2 separate regions of the Homo sapiens genome follow, and region 1 is linked to region 2. Evidence: promoter capture Hi-C in human tissues and cell types (Jung and others, 2019). All regions are on one chromosome and are shown on one strand. The core of a region is centred on a gene start or on the middle of the fragment in contact, and the rest is flanking DNA. Distances in the headings are between cores, read along the strand shown.

What was found. Contacts are between HindIII fragments. The study calls those that stand out against the background at their distance.
Region 1: a fragment that was not itself captured here is called in contact with the fragment with the promoter of SEZ6 in region 2 in 2 of the 25 tissues and cell types used here (dorsolateral prefrontal cortex and hippocampus).

The regions. Positions count from the first base shown.
Region 1 is chr17:29,276,679-29,283,427 of GRCh38, forward strand. The region is part of intron 2 of NUFIP2 (nuclear FMR1 interacting protein 2); the gene reads right to left. Among named protein-coding and RNA genes, the nearest start is that of NUFIP2, 14 kb to the right of the region's middle. The HindIII fragment of the contact is 8,027 bases long and covers 643-6,749 here.
Region 2 is chr17:29,004,637-29,011,617 of GRCh38, forward strand. SEZ6 (seizure related 6 homolog) reads right to left here and starts at 1,397. Exons shown (of 17, transcript NM_178860.5): 1 at 1,179-1,397. The coding sequence starts at 1,233. LOC105371716 (a long non-coding RNA gene) reads left to right here. Exons shown (of 5, transcript XR_001752822.2): 3 at 6,324-6,981. RefSeq lists a silencer at 1,160-1,343. The HindIII fragment of the contact is 3,335 bases long and covers 1-2,389 here.

The DNA of each region.
Region 1 (6,749 bases), core at 3,406-5,905, 280 kb after region 2:
ACCAAGTTTCTTAATGACACAAACTCTCACCTCTCATCTATTTATCACTACTGCTTCTCACAGGGCTTGGTGCAGTAAGTAGATACTGATTTGAACAAATACTATTCATAAGTCAGCCAGGAAGTAATAATGTAACTGTAAACAGTATTAGGCAGACCCATTTGGCATTGCTCACACTCAACTTCTTCTGACCTACAAAAACAGCAATTTCATATAGTCAAACTGAACAGATACAGCATTTAATTATTAAATCCCTCAAGGAAAAAGACTGAAGCTAAAAGGGCTAAAGCTAACTAGAAGCTTATTTTTTGCATTTAAAAATGAATAATACTATTGTCTCAGCTAATAGAACATTGTTTGTTTTTGGAGACAGTCTCGCTCTGTCGCCCAGACTAGAGTGCAACAGCACAATCTCGGTTCACAGCAACCTCCGCCTCCCAGGTTCAACAGATTCTCCTGCCTAAGCCTCCGGAGTAGCTGGGACTACAGGCACGTGCCACCATGCCCGGCTCATTTTTGTATTTTTAGTAGAGACCGGGTTTCACCACACTGGCCAGGCTGGTCTCGAACTCCTGACCTCAGGGGATCTGCCCACCTCAGCCTCCTAAAATGCTGGGATTTGCATGTGCCACCACGTCTGAACCTAGAACATCTTTTAAAAATTAACATCTAAATTAAATGGCTCCACCAGAGATAGATAACAAATCAACATAATGCCAAACAAACTGACTCCCACAACTGAGAACCCCCAAATCAATTTATCACTAATCATGCCTTCCAATCCCTTATTAAGCCATTTTGGATCAAATTCTGTAAAATTCAGCAAGGATGGTGACATGGTAAATTAAAATTCTGCTTTCCCCCTCCTAATTCAGATTTGCCCATTTTTTGGATGATTACAGGTTATTGTACCATGTTTTGCTATTCTGATTTCCTTTTTCTTAACCAGTCTGCCATACTTGTGCCTATTCTTTTACAAAGAAGCTTGTCAGAAATTTCTACCACCCTTTTTCAGTTTGACAATACCCAGAGAGAAATATAGCATGTTTTCCGGCCAGGTGCGGTGGCTTATGGTTGTAATCCCAGCACTTTGGGAGGCCGAGGTGGGTGGATCACCTGAGGTCAGGAGTTTGAGACCAGCCTGACCAACATGGTGAAACCTCAGTCTCTACTAAAAATACAAAATTAGCCAAGCGTGGTGATGCAAGCCTATAATCCCAGCTACTCAGGAGGCTGAGGCAAGAGATCGCTTGAACCCAGGAGGTAGAGGTAGCAGTGAGCCGAGATCGCGCCACTGGACTCCAGCCTGGGCAACGAGAGTGAAACTCAATCAAAAAGGGAAAGGGAAAGAAAAGAAAAAGAAATACAGCATGCTTTCAAGTAATTCTGAATTAAGGTAGTTAGAAGTCACCACCTTTTCAGTAGACCCCTTAATGAACTCTTTTCTGAAGCTACAACAATCCAGGATAAGAAGAATTATCCAGACTACTCCTAAATAGAAACTCGGAACTCAAGTTGTTTTTGTTATTTTTCTCTTTTCTATTGCTCTTATTCTAATCTCATGTACTTTATTATTATTTTTTTTTGAGACAGAGTCTCGCTCTGTCCCCCAGGCTAGACTGCAGTGGCGCGATCTCGGCTCACTGCAAGCTCCACCTCCCGGGTTCACGCTATTCTCCTGCCTCAGCCTCCCGAGTAGCTGGGACTACAGGTACCCGCCACTGCGCCCGGCTAATTTTTTGTATTTTTAGTAGAGACGGGGTTTCACCGTGTTAGCCAGGATGGTCTCGATCTCCTGACCTCGTGATCTGCCCGCCTCGGCCTCCCAAAGTGCTGGGATTACAGGAATTGAGCCACCACGCCCGGCCCCCCATGTGCTTTATAAGGGTAAAAGTTGCTTGGAATGAAACTGCTACTACTATGATAGTAATAGCTTGGAATGAAACTGCTACTACTATGATAGTAATAAACAATTTCTGGTTTTGCTACTATCATTATAGTAACAGTGTCTGCTCTTCTTACAGCATAGATGGTTATTTCCCTCACACTCAGGACTTAAGCTAGTGAAATCTGGAAGTTAAATTTTAACTTCCAAAAATTCCTTACAAGTGATCTTTCACCAGTATCAAGGTGAATATATTATTACTGTATTCATAAAGCAGACATCATGAAACATCAAGCAGTCAGTATGGGTACTAAACAGCCAGTATGAGTTCTCTCACTGGGAGAAAGGGGACCTTATCCCATATTAGGAATTATTTGTTATATTCATTACTATATGTCCCACATCATTATATCCTCATAAACAAGTACCCTTTCCAAATCTAGGGAATCCAACCAGGGCTAAAACCAAGGCAAATCTTAAAACTGTCAAATTTGCAGGCACACATTAATAAGATTATTAGAAAGACAGCTGTGATGTCAAATAGGCATTCAGGAAGCAATTGCAATGAAATGCAGTAAACGTGAAAATACTTATTCACATTGTGTTTAGAAGAGAAAATTTAATATTCAGATCCTTCTCTGAACAATGTCCAAACTGTACACCTAGTCCTTGTCAATTTTATGGATTAATCATAATTTGTCTCTTCATATCCTGTTTCCCAAATCTTGTTATGTAATCTTATCTGTTCCCTTATGCCCTTTCCCAATCTAAAAGCTTTTTAAAAAATTTTTTTTAAAATTCAGATCATTTACATGGTTGAAAATACAAAGCAGAAGACCTTTATTATACCTCTGCCTGCACTATTCCAAGAAACTGATCTTCTAGTCAACAGAAAAATGGCTTCCAGTCTACCCAAATTGGTGCCATATTAATCTACCTCAACACAGATCTGTAAGTAATTGCTTAATACCAACTGTTGTATGTTTTTGAGACAGGGTCTCACTCTGTTGCACAACCTTGAGTGCAACAGCACGATTATGGCTCACTGCATCTTTGACCTCTTGGGCTTGGTGATATCCTCCATCTCAGCCTCCACATGCCACCATGCCCAGCTAATGCTTCAAATTTTTTTGTAGAAATCAGGACTTGCTATGTTGCCCAGGCTGATCTCAAACTCCTGAGCTCAAGTGATTTTCCTGCCTCACTTCAAAAATGCTAGGATTATAGGCAAGAGCCACAGTACCCAGACTATTTTTATTTTCATTTTTTGAGGTGAAGTCTTGCTGTGTCTCCTAGGCTGGATAGAGTGCAGTGGTGTGATCTCAGCCCACTGCAACTTCCACCTCCCAGATTCAAGCGATTCTCCCACCTCAGCCTCCCAATTAGCGGAGACTACAGGCCTGCACCACTATGCCTGGCTAATTTTTGTATTTTCATAGAGATGGGGTTTCGTCATGTTGGCCAGGTTGGTCTCAAACTCCTGACCTCAGGTGATCCACCCGCCTCAGCCTCCCAACGTGCTGGGATTACAAGTGTGAGCCATGTCCGGCCCCAGCCTATTTTTAAATGAATATTCCAAAATGTCAGCATTTCAAATGCTTCATATCCTTCAGTGCCATAACAGCCATGTAAGACAGATCAACCCAGTTTAAATTGGCACTGTGACCAAACACACAACTCATATCAATTATTATTTCCAAAGACTTGGCTTCAAATGACTTTCAACCATTTCAAAATCAAAAGTTTACTTCAAAAAGTTAGGATCTAGTGTTCAAAGCTTTTAAAGTCAAGTCAAAGAGAGGCTTGCTAAGCATTCTGAGATAACTACTTTTAAGAAGGCACAGTTATATGTCCCAGGTATGTACACTAAGAGCCATCACAAGCTAAGCATGGTGGCTCATGCCTGTAATCCCAATACTTAAGGAGGCTGAAGCAGAAGGATCACTTGAGGGCAGGAATTCCAGACCAGCCCAGACAACATGGGTGGTAGCGCAAACCTATGGTCCCAGCTACACAGGAGGCTGAGGCGGGAGGATTCCTTAAGCCCAGGAGTTCAAGGGTGCAGTGAGCTAGGATCATACCACTGCATTCCAGCCTGAGTCACAGGGTGAGACCCTGTCTCTTAAAAAAGAGCCATCACAGCCAGGTGTGGTGGCTCATGCCTGTAATCCCAGCACTTTCGGAGGCGGAGGTGGGCGGAGAACTTGAGGTCAAGAGTTCAAGACCAGTCTGGCCAACATGGCGAAACCCCGTCTCTACTAAAAATACAAAAAAATTAGCCGGGCACGGTGGTACATGCCTGTAATCCCAGTTACTCGGGAGGCTGAGGCAGAATCGCTTGAACCCAGGAGGCAGAGGTTGCAGCGAGCCAAGATCGCACCATTGTACTCCATCCTGGGTGACAGAGTGAGGCTCCGTCTCCAAAAAAAAGAAAGGAAAAGAAAAGTTAGGACAGGCATGGTGGCCCACACCTGTAATCCTAGCACTTTGGGAGGCTGAGGCAGGAGGATCCCTTGAGGCCAGGAGTTCAAGACCAGCCTGGGTAAAATACACAGACACCGTCACTATATGTATATATACATATATAAAAAATACAAGAATTAGCTGGGCAGCCGGGCACGGTGGCTCATGCCTGTAATCCCAGCTACTAGGGAGGCTGAGGCAGGAGAAATCACTTGAACCTGAGAGGCGGAGGTTGCAGTGAGCCGAGATCACGCCACTGCACGCCAGCCAGGGCGACAGTGTGAGACTCCATCTCAAAAAAATAAAAATAAAAAAATTAGCTGGGCATTGCGGTGCACACCTGTGGTCCCAGCTACTCAGGAGGCTGAGGCAGGAGGATCACTTGAGCCCAGGAGCTCAAGGCTACAGTGAGCTATGACCACACCACTGTACTCCAGCCTCAACAACACAGCAACACCCTGTCTCAAAAAAAAAGAGAAAAGTTAATGGCATAACATATTATATAAAAAGCTAAAAGAGGCCAGGCATGGTGGCATACACCTGTAGTACTAGCTACTCAGGAGGCTGAGGAAGGAGGAGAGCTTCAGCCCAGTTCCAGGCTGCAATGAGCTACGATAGTGCCACTGCACTCCAGCCTGGGTGACAATGAGATCCTGTCTCTTTAAAAAAAAAAAAAAAAAAAACAGCTAAAAGGAAAATCCCACACAAGGAATTAGAATCCACACAAATCCCGCCACCCCCCACCCTTTTTTTTTTTAGAAGGAGCCTTGCTCTGTCGTCCAGGCTGGAGTGCAGTGGCACGATCTCAGCTCACTGCAACTTCCACCTCCCGGGTTCACGCCATTCTCCTGCCTCAGCCTCCCAAGTAGCTGGGACTACAGGTGCCTGCTACCACGCCCGGCTAATTTTTTGTATTTTTAGTAGAGATGGGGTTTCACTGTTAGCCAGGATGGCCTCGATCTCCTGACCTCGTGATCCACCCTCCTTGGCCTCCCAAAGTGCTGGGATTACAGGCGTGAGCCACCGCACCCAGCACAAATCCCCTTTTTATGCTCTATTGTATCTTTACTTCATACCCTCAATTGTACTTAACACTCAAATTTTTAAAAATCCATAGTACGCTTAAGGTTCCAAGTAATTGCTTAATCTAAAAACTTCCTGTATTAAAAAAAGCCCTTGCCAGAAGCTGCCGCCATGCACTTGGACTTCCCAGCCGCCAAAACCTTGAGTCAAATAAACACCTTTCTTTGTTGGGTGCAGTGGCTCACACCCGTAATCCCAGCACTTTGGGAGGCCAAGGCAGGTGGCTCATGAGGTCAGGAGACCAGCCTGACCAACACGGTAAAACCCTGTCTCTACTAAAAATACAAAATTAGCCAGGCATGGTGGCGTGCACCTGTAATCCCAGCTACTCAGGAGGCTGAGGCAGGAGAATCGCTTGAACCCAGGGGGCGGAGGTTGCAGTGAGCCAAGACTGTGACACTGCACTCCAGCCTGGGCAACAGAGCAAGACCCCATCTCAAAAAAAAAAAAAACCACCAAAAAACAAAATAAAAACACCTTTCTTTATATAAGTTAAATAAATAGTGCACCATTCTTAAAGAAGTGACATAACGCACTCTCTTACCCACTATTTCCAAATTAAGTTGCTGAAGGGCTTATTTTTGAAGTCAGGAGAAATGCAGAGAACTTCCAATTCTAAGCCCAACTTCAACTACTCACTTAGAGATTACTACTGAACATCTGAAAACTACACTAAAGCACAAAGAAAATAATACAGATGTTCTTAAAGGATATTCCAGTAGCCCAACTGATTATTACTTCTTTTAGAGTTAACTTTAAAAAAAAAAGGCTTCACTTATAAAAGATCTCCAAATATAATTCAAGTAAAGAAAAATGAGTGGCCAATGGACTGCTAATGGACCAATCAACATTTGGCAGGAATTCAAAGAACTTGCTACTCTGGAACCCAATTGAACTGAGTATTATTTATTGTTCTAGAGGGGTAAAAATTTTGATGCCAATCTGATTAATTTCCAATCATGTCCAAATACAGAACTCAAGATGACACTTTACCTACAGCAAATTTTTTCATTAATACCAGCAAAACTAAATATAACTGCACCCATATAGGGGTATTCAGCTTATATAAATACCACTGATTTCATATTCAGCTAGCCCATGGATAGGGAAAATGCATAAAGAGTAAATTCAGGTTAACATTCCAATTTAAAAATGGCCTGCAATTCCACCTAATAGAAATTGTACATAAGAACTATTAACCAGTTACCTAATGGAACATATCCTACACATTTTGTTGTTTTGTTTTGAGACACGGTCTCACTCTGTTGCCCAGGCCTGAGTGCAGTGGTGCAAACATAGCTCACTGCAGACCTGGATC
Region 2 (6,981 bases), core at 147-2,646:
GGAAAGATCGAGCAGGGAGGTTAGAAACTCCCACCCTCACACTTCACATCAGGCCCTTCAAACCATATGGCAAGGGATGGCAGGTCTCAACTCCAAGTGCGGTTCTGCCGACCCTACCAGCCTACTGCAGCGGGAGAAGGACGTGGGTGCCAGTAGCTTCCATGAGAGCTTGTTTGAGCCAGGACGGCAGGTCCAGACAAGACTCTTCCCCGAGGCACGGAACCCCTATCCTCTCCCCAACACTCCCTTGCCGCTCACACCATGGCCAAGCTTCCCTCTACCCAAGACCGACGAAGTTGGGGACCAGACTCCTAGAGGGGGCGCGGGGATTCTCAGGGTGTGGGGAACAGGTCCTCCAGAGACAAATCTGCCTTGCAGGTGGGGAGTGGACCAGGGCCGGGCAGGAAGGCAGGCCGGGAGGGAGGCAGAGCTCGGGGCAGTGGTGTGTGTGTGTGTGTGTGTGTGTGTGTGTGTGTGTGTGTACAAGGAAAGGACTTTGGGGAGGACAGAGTCTCTATCCCAGGATCTCCGCTGCTGCAGCCGAGGGCAGAGCCAGGAGCCAGATAGGGGGTCCAGGCCCTTGGAGTTTCTCTCTAGAATTGTGCTCTAGGTCCCGACTCTGGCGTGGCAGCGCCAGGGCATGGGGAGGTGAGCGAGGTCCCAACCCCGGGTCCGGCCGCCATCCGGCCCCGTCTCCCCTCAGTAAGAACACTAGAGGCCCTGGAACCGGCGGCAAAGTCGAGCGAAGTTTGGCGGGCGGCAGGGGAAGCGGGACCACGGGCCGCCAGCTGGACCGTCCCGACTCACTGCCTTGCGCCCCCCGGCACGCGCCCCAGCACCCTGAGATGCCTAGAGTGTGGCGAGGTAGCGCGCGGGTGAGCGCGTGTGTGCGGGGAGTGGGTGGCGTGATGAATTGCATCAGAGAAATCCCATTAGATCTGGGGAGATGATTAAAGACGAGGTCTCGGCCGGGCGCGAATGGCGGGAGCCGCGGCAGCTTCCCGCCCGCGAAGCCCGCGCCCCGCCCGGCTTGGCCGGCGCCGGGGGCAGCGCAGCCGGCGGGGCGCGGTGCTTGGACTGGGCAGCCAGATGCCCGAAGCTGGGCACCGGGTCTCCCTTCCCACCCCTGGGGCCCCGCTCCCGCCCCCGTCCTGCCGCCGGATGCCGGGGTCCCTTACCGTGAGCCAGGAGCGCCAGCAGCGAGGGCAGGAGCAGCAGGGCTACCGGGCGCATGGTGCTGGTTGCGGCCGCGCCCTGGGCTGGGACCGCGGCGGGAGGGCGGGGGGCTTGGTGGGGCTTGGGCGCGGGGGCAGAGCCGGGTCCGGCCGGGTAGAGGGAGCGGGGCCGCAGCCGTCACCGCCGCTGCCGCCGCCAGCGCCTGACAGAATCAGCACCACGGCCAGCGCCTGGCGACGGCGCCGGGGATCGCCGAGCGGGGCTGGGGGCGGGGGCGCGGGAGGAGCGGCTTACCGTAAAGTCTCATGCAAAGGCGCAGAGACCCAGGGGCAGGAGCCCAGGCTCCCGCTCCACCGCGACTGCCCTACTCATGTGGGCACACGGCCCCTGCCCTTCTGCGCTGCCCACCCCCAGCCAAGCATGCCACCCTCTTTCCCGTTAACGGCCTGCTAAGGAACCTCAATTAATAGCTCACTGTAGCCTTCTGATTCTCCATGAGAAAGAGCAACACTTTCCCCACCCCTCTCCACCCAATCCTGGTACCTGAGGGCGTCAAGGGTGACCTGGGAAGACATCCGAGAGTGAGGCAGCTGGTGAGGCCCGCGTGCCCTTGTGGCAGTTCCGTCTTGGGACGATAATGAAGATGGCTTTTGAGCGTACAAAGGATAATAAATTATTACTTTGCGCTCAATAAATGCCAGGGCTCCAGGCAGCTGCATCAGCAGCAAACTGTGCTCACAGAAAAGCTTAATTATCCTGATATTATAGTTAAAAGCCAGTGGCACTCGCATCCTGGGGAGACATTCTTCACTTGGCAGGAGGCAACCTGGGCCAAGCTGTGGGCAGCTGAAGGTAGTATCCTGGGTCCCCACGTAGCCCTGGGTCTCCAGGACTCTGCCTTGGCCCCTCTGCAGGACCAGAGAAGCCACAGTGACAGTCGATACAGACCCTTCATGCCATCTCTGCCCAGGTTTCTGGAATTGGTGGAGAAAATGGCATAGGCATGAGAGAGGGTTTCCTAGAGCTGTTATTTTATTTTATTTTATTATTGTTTTTAGAGACAGGGTCTCTGTTGCTTAGGCTGGAAATGCAGTGGCACAATTATATTAATAGCTCACCCAAACTCCTGGGCTCAAGAGATCCTCCCACTTCAGCCTCTCAAGTAGCTAGAACTACAGGCATGCACCCCCAAGCCTGGCTAATTTTTAAATTTTTTGCAGAGATAAGGTCTCATTATGTTGCCCAAACTGGTCTTGAAATCCTGGCCTCAAGAGATCCTCCCGCCTTGGCCTCCCAAAGTGCTGGGATTACAGGCATGAGCCACTGTGCCCTACGGCTGTTTTAGATAGAGACTTGAAGGAGGCCCAGGGGTGTAGCCTGTACTATTAAAGGCATGGAAAAATAACTTTCCAGGGCCCTGCTTGGGCTGAGGAGCCCCAGTGAGTCACAGGACAGCAAGGGGGCAGTCACAGCTGTGCCATCCTGAGGCTGCTCTTTAAAGGCAGGGGCTCATGGATGGGCTCACTTGAAGAGCTTTAATGGGTACAATGGGACAGGATCCTATGGCTGATGTTATTATTCCCTGTAGAGGAATAGGAGGGCTGAACTCCCTATTGCCCCTGGGAGAAGGGCAGTTTTTTGTTTAGTTTCTTTTTACATGAACTTGGTTGCTCTCCAAAGCTTCCAGACTCCAGTCATTGTCCAGTGTCCTTCCTGACCCTCATCCTGGAAGCAGGTGGTGAAATTTCTGCTCAAGTTCCTTAGAGAGTGTTTTGGTCCTCTTGACCAGAGTCTCCCAACTCTGCTGGTTGGATTCTCTCCAGACCCTCTTCTTGTGGGCTCTGGGGAGCTGTGATGACTGCTGTAAAGAGTCCCAGGCAGCAGGCAGATGGCGTGTGGAATTAGGAAGACGCTGGGATTTCTGGACAGTTGTTTTGAGAAGCTGAGGAAAAAGAGGGCAGCAGCAGAAGGATGGCAGGAAGAAGGAGGAGCTGATGCAAGAATCAGGGGTGAGGAGAGGAAGCCAGGAAAGAAGGTGCAAGAGGGGAGGCAGAAAGAGAGTTGCCAACAGAGGAAGGGAAGAGACACAGAGGTAGAAGGTTGTGTGACCGGGGGAAGTTTAGGAAAATGCTGGCAAATGTCATGAGATTCCTCTTTTCCTCCTTGAAAGTATTCCTGGGCTCCTCTAGTATTCCTGGTCCCTCATGGCTAGGCAGCTTGGGCAAGGGGAGTGAGTCATGACCTAGGGATGAATCTTGTATTGCCAGGATGATTCATGGGGATTTGGAGGTTGGTGGCAGGCTTGTCTGACTCTCTTAGCAACAGGGCTCCTTGATGGGCTGGGCACTATGCACATAAAGGAGGGGGAGAGAAGCCATCCTGGAACTTGTCACATCACCTTCCCTATGGCCTGAACTAACCTAGAGGGTCCAATGGAGACTACAAGTCCCAGAATACAGTACTGTACCCTGAGCTCAGAAGATGGGCTTGTACTGCATGATGGGCATGACAATGCACCGGGGCTGTCCCTCCCTCCTAAAGGCAGTTAACATAGCCTTTATGCAGTGGGTTCCTAGGCAGGTTGAGGCAGAGCCTGGGCCAAACTGGGAAACAGCAGAGCTTCTGTCAGGTGCCCTCTATCATGCCCTCCAAGGGGCTCGTCCTAACCAGACCTTGATATTACCTACAAATTGAGAACAATAAAATGCCCAAGGGGACAATCAGCTGTATACAGGGCTGGCAGGCTTATAGTCTACTCAATTCATAGGCACCTTTGAAAGTGGCAGTCTGGGTGGACTTGCAAGGCTCCCCTCACTGCTCTCACTTCTGTTCTCTGCATCCCCCACCTGGCTTTTTGCTCCCAGAGAACCCTGGGCTTCCCCTGTCTGTGTAATTGCTTGCTTAATTGTCTGTCTGCTCTACTAGTTGTTGACTTTGCGAAGGCACAGACCGTGTCTGTCTCATCTACCCACAATCTAGCTCAGTGGCTGGCACATAGTAGATGTTCAATAAATATTTGTGAATAAACAACAGGGATGAGGAGTGTCTAAAGCCCAAGGCCGGTCATTGGTGTCAAATGAGTGCTGTGAGATAATGAAGAAAAGGGCAATTGTTTCTTTTGGGGATGAGGCAAGGTCAGTGAAATCTTCACACAATGGATGGGTGAAACCAAGTTGAATATGTTTTTAAAAATTAATTAATTAATTTTTGAGACAGGTTCTTACTCTGTCACCCAGGCTGGGATGCAGTGGTGTGATCAGGGCTCACTGCAGCCTTGACTTCCTGGGCTGAAGTGATTCTCCCATCTCAGCCTCCTGAATAACTGGGACCACAGGCATGAGCCAGCATGCCCAGCTAATTTTTTACTTTTTTGTAGAGATGAGGTCTCTGTATGTAGTCCAGGCTGGTCTCAAATTCCTGGGCTCAAGTGATCCTCCCACCTTGGCCTCCCAAAGGACTGAGATTACAGGCATGAACCACTGCCCCTAGCCCAAATAAGTCTTATGATTCAATGGAGAGGGAGAGGGAAGACATTCAAAGTTGGGGGGTGTAGTTTATGCACAGCGTTGGAAAATGCAAGCTAGTCTGGGTCAGTGAGAAGACTGGTTCTGCTGGAGCAGAGTCCCTGCTGGGAAGTAGGAGAAAGGGCTAGAGTAGGCTGGGGCCTAGCTGTGAATGGCTTGGTGGTCACCTGAGCTGAAGGACATCCTTGGTGGCTATACTGAAGGGATTACCCCATCACGAAGATATTTGCACTGAAACAGAGCAATCTGGCATCATTAAGGTATGTTTTCAAGCACTGTGGCAAGTGGTAGGAACTGTGGGGTTCACTGCTGACTCCGAAGCCAGGGGGTGGGGTGTGTGTCTGAGCTACAGTGACTGAATTAGGTTTGAGAGACCAGAGAGAGGGAAGAAGGGGCTCTTCAATCCCAGACACCCCAACCCCTGCCCAGACAAAGCCAGACATACATAGAGCCCCCATCCATCCATTGAAGCTGGAGAAGCCAGCTTTACTTCCCCAGTTCCAAACAGCCCATCAATCTGTAGGATCACAGGCACATTGGTGACTTATTTTGAAGTCTCTGCTGAGATGACACTTGCTTTCTGCACGAGAGGAGGAGAAAATTACTCTCTTCTAAGACAGCTTTCAAACCAGAGCTATATCTTTTGTGGAGCCAAAGGGGTTTTGGTGTTTCAGGGAGGCAAGGGCAGGGGCTGCCACCTCACTCCAGAGGCTCCCAGGGGTTCAGAGCTGCCTGCTTACCTCAACCCACTTCATGGAGCAGGATTCCAGACCTTGCAGCTCCTGGAACAGTCAGGGATGCCAGTGCTCCAGCCAGGGCTCCCTGCATTACCCAAAGTCAACCCATTGAATTTAGGGGCAGGAGGAGGGCCCTGCTCTGATAAATGGAGAGTCCTGGCTCCAGGCATTTGCTCTTGCTCCAGGATTGACTGCAGGAAGAGCTCAGGGTAGATGGAGACAGCAGCAGAAAGTGGTTTGATGTGAGCTACTTTCCATCTCCAAACAGAGGCCTCCAGCCTGCCCACCACCCCCAGCCGAGGCCTTTGATCCTCCACAGCTCCATAAATGTTTAATGCCACCGGCTGGGCAGGAATGAGGCAGGTGCTGAAACAGGGAGACTGGGGATAGGACTTAAGACGTACAATGTTGGCTAGATTATTTTCACATAGGAGCTCTGGGATGGATGGGAGGAGGCTTTCCCCCATCATGTGGCAGGAGAAGTCCCAGGGTTCAAATTTGGGGCACTAATAAAGAAAACTCTTTGAAAACTACCAAGGGGATGAAAATAAATGAATAATCAATTGCAAAAGCCCAATCTCTGGTTTGATTGAAGGAGAAAGATGGAAAGTTAAATGACAATCAAATGCAAATACAGCTCAACAAACACCACAGCAATTACCAGGCGCAGGAACCACATGGTGCTTGCAGGCAGCGGGGGTTGGCAATTTGGAAGCCTGAGCCTGTGCAGAGGTGACGGGCGAGGGGCCATTTTAATGGACGGTTAAATAGATGCAAAAAAACCCTGCATCTACTTTGCATACACTGCTGATGAGTGGGGTGCTGGAATTCTGGCATCCAGAGGGAGGTTGTTCTACCTTCCGTGGCTGCCTCTGTATCATTTCAGGAGGCCCTGAGTACCTGCGGTGGGGTGAGGCCAGAGTGAGCTCCAGCTCAGATGATCAGGGAGAAGGCTGCACCAGTCTCATTGGATTCTTCACACCAGCTGGTGCTGAAGGTTCAGGGGTTGAAGTTGAAAGAAGCCCGTGGGGTCCTCCATAAAGGACTCAAGGTGCTGGCCTTCCAACAGCCTGGTAAGAGTGGCTTTCTCCTCTAGATTTGCATAATGCTTTGCATCTCATTTGAATACTATTAATTTGGTGTCAGGCTAGGTTGGCATGGTGTAGGAAAGAGAACAGCTGGCCTTCTCCATCCCCTCTGTACCACAGAGCTTATTCTAAGCATAGCCTTCTGCAACTGGGGGGCATGAGGCCTCCACTTTCACCATCCCCTTCATGTTCCCTGACACTTAGTCTCTTAGTGAAGCCAGCTCCTAAAAGCCAAGGCTGCCTGGCATTGTGGCCACCTGCAGGGTTATGCTGAAGGAAGAAGAAAGGGTCCCCCAAGGTCACTCTCACCAGACCCAGAGACACCATGGGAGGATGCTGGGGGCCTTTGTCATCCCAAGCAATCAAGGCAGCTTGGCTTGGAAAGGGTCCAAAGATAATAACCAAGAGAGGGAGGGAACAAAGACAGGCGATAATCCCAGAGAAATATAGAGGGCT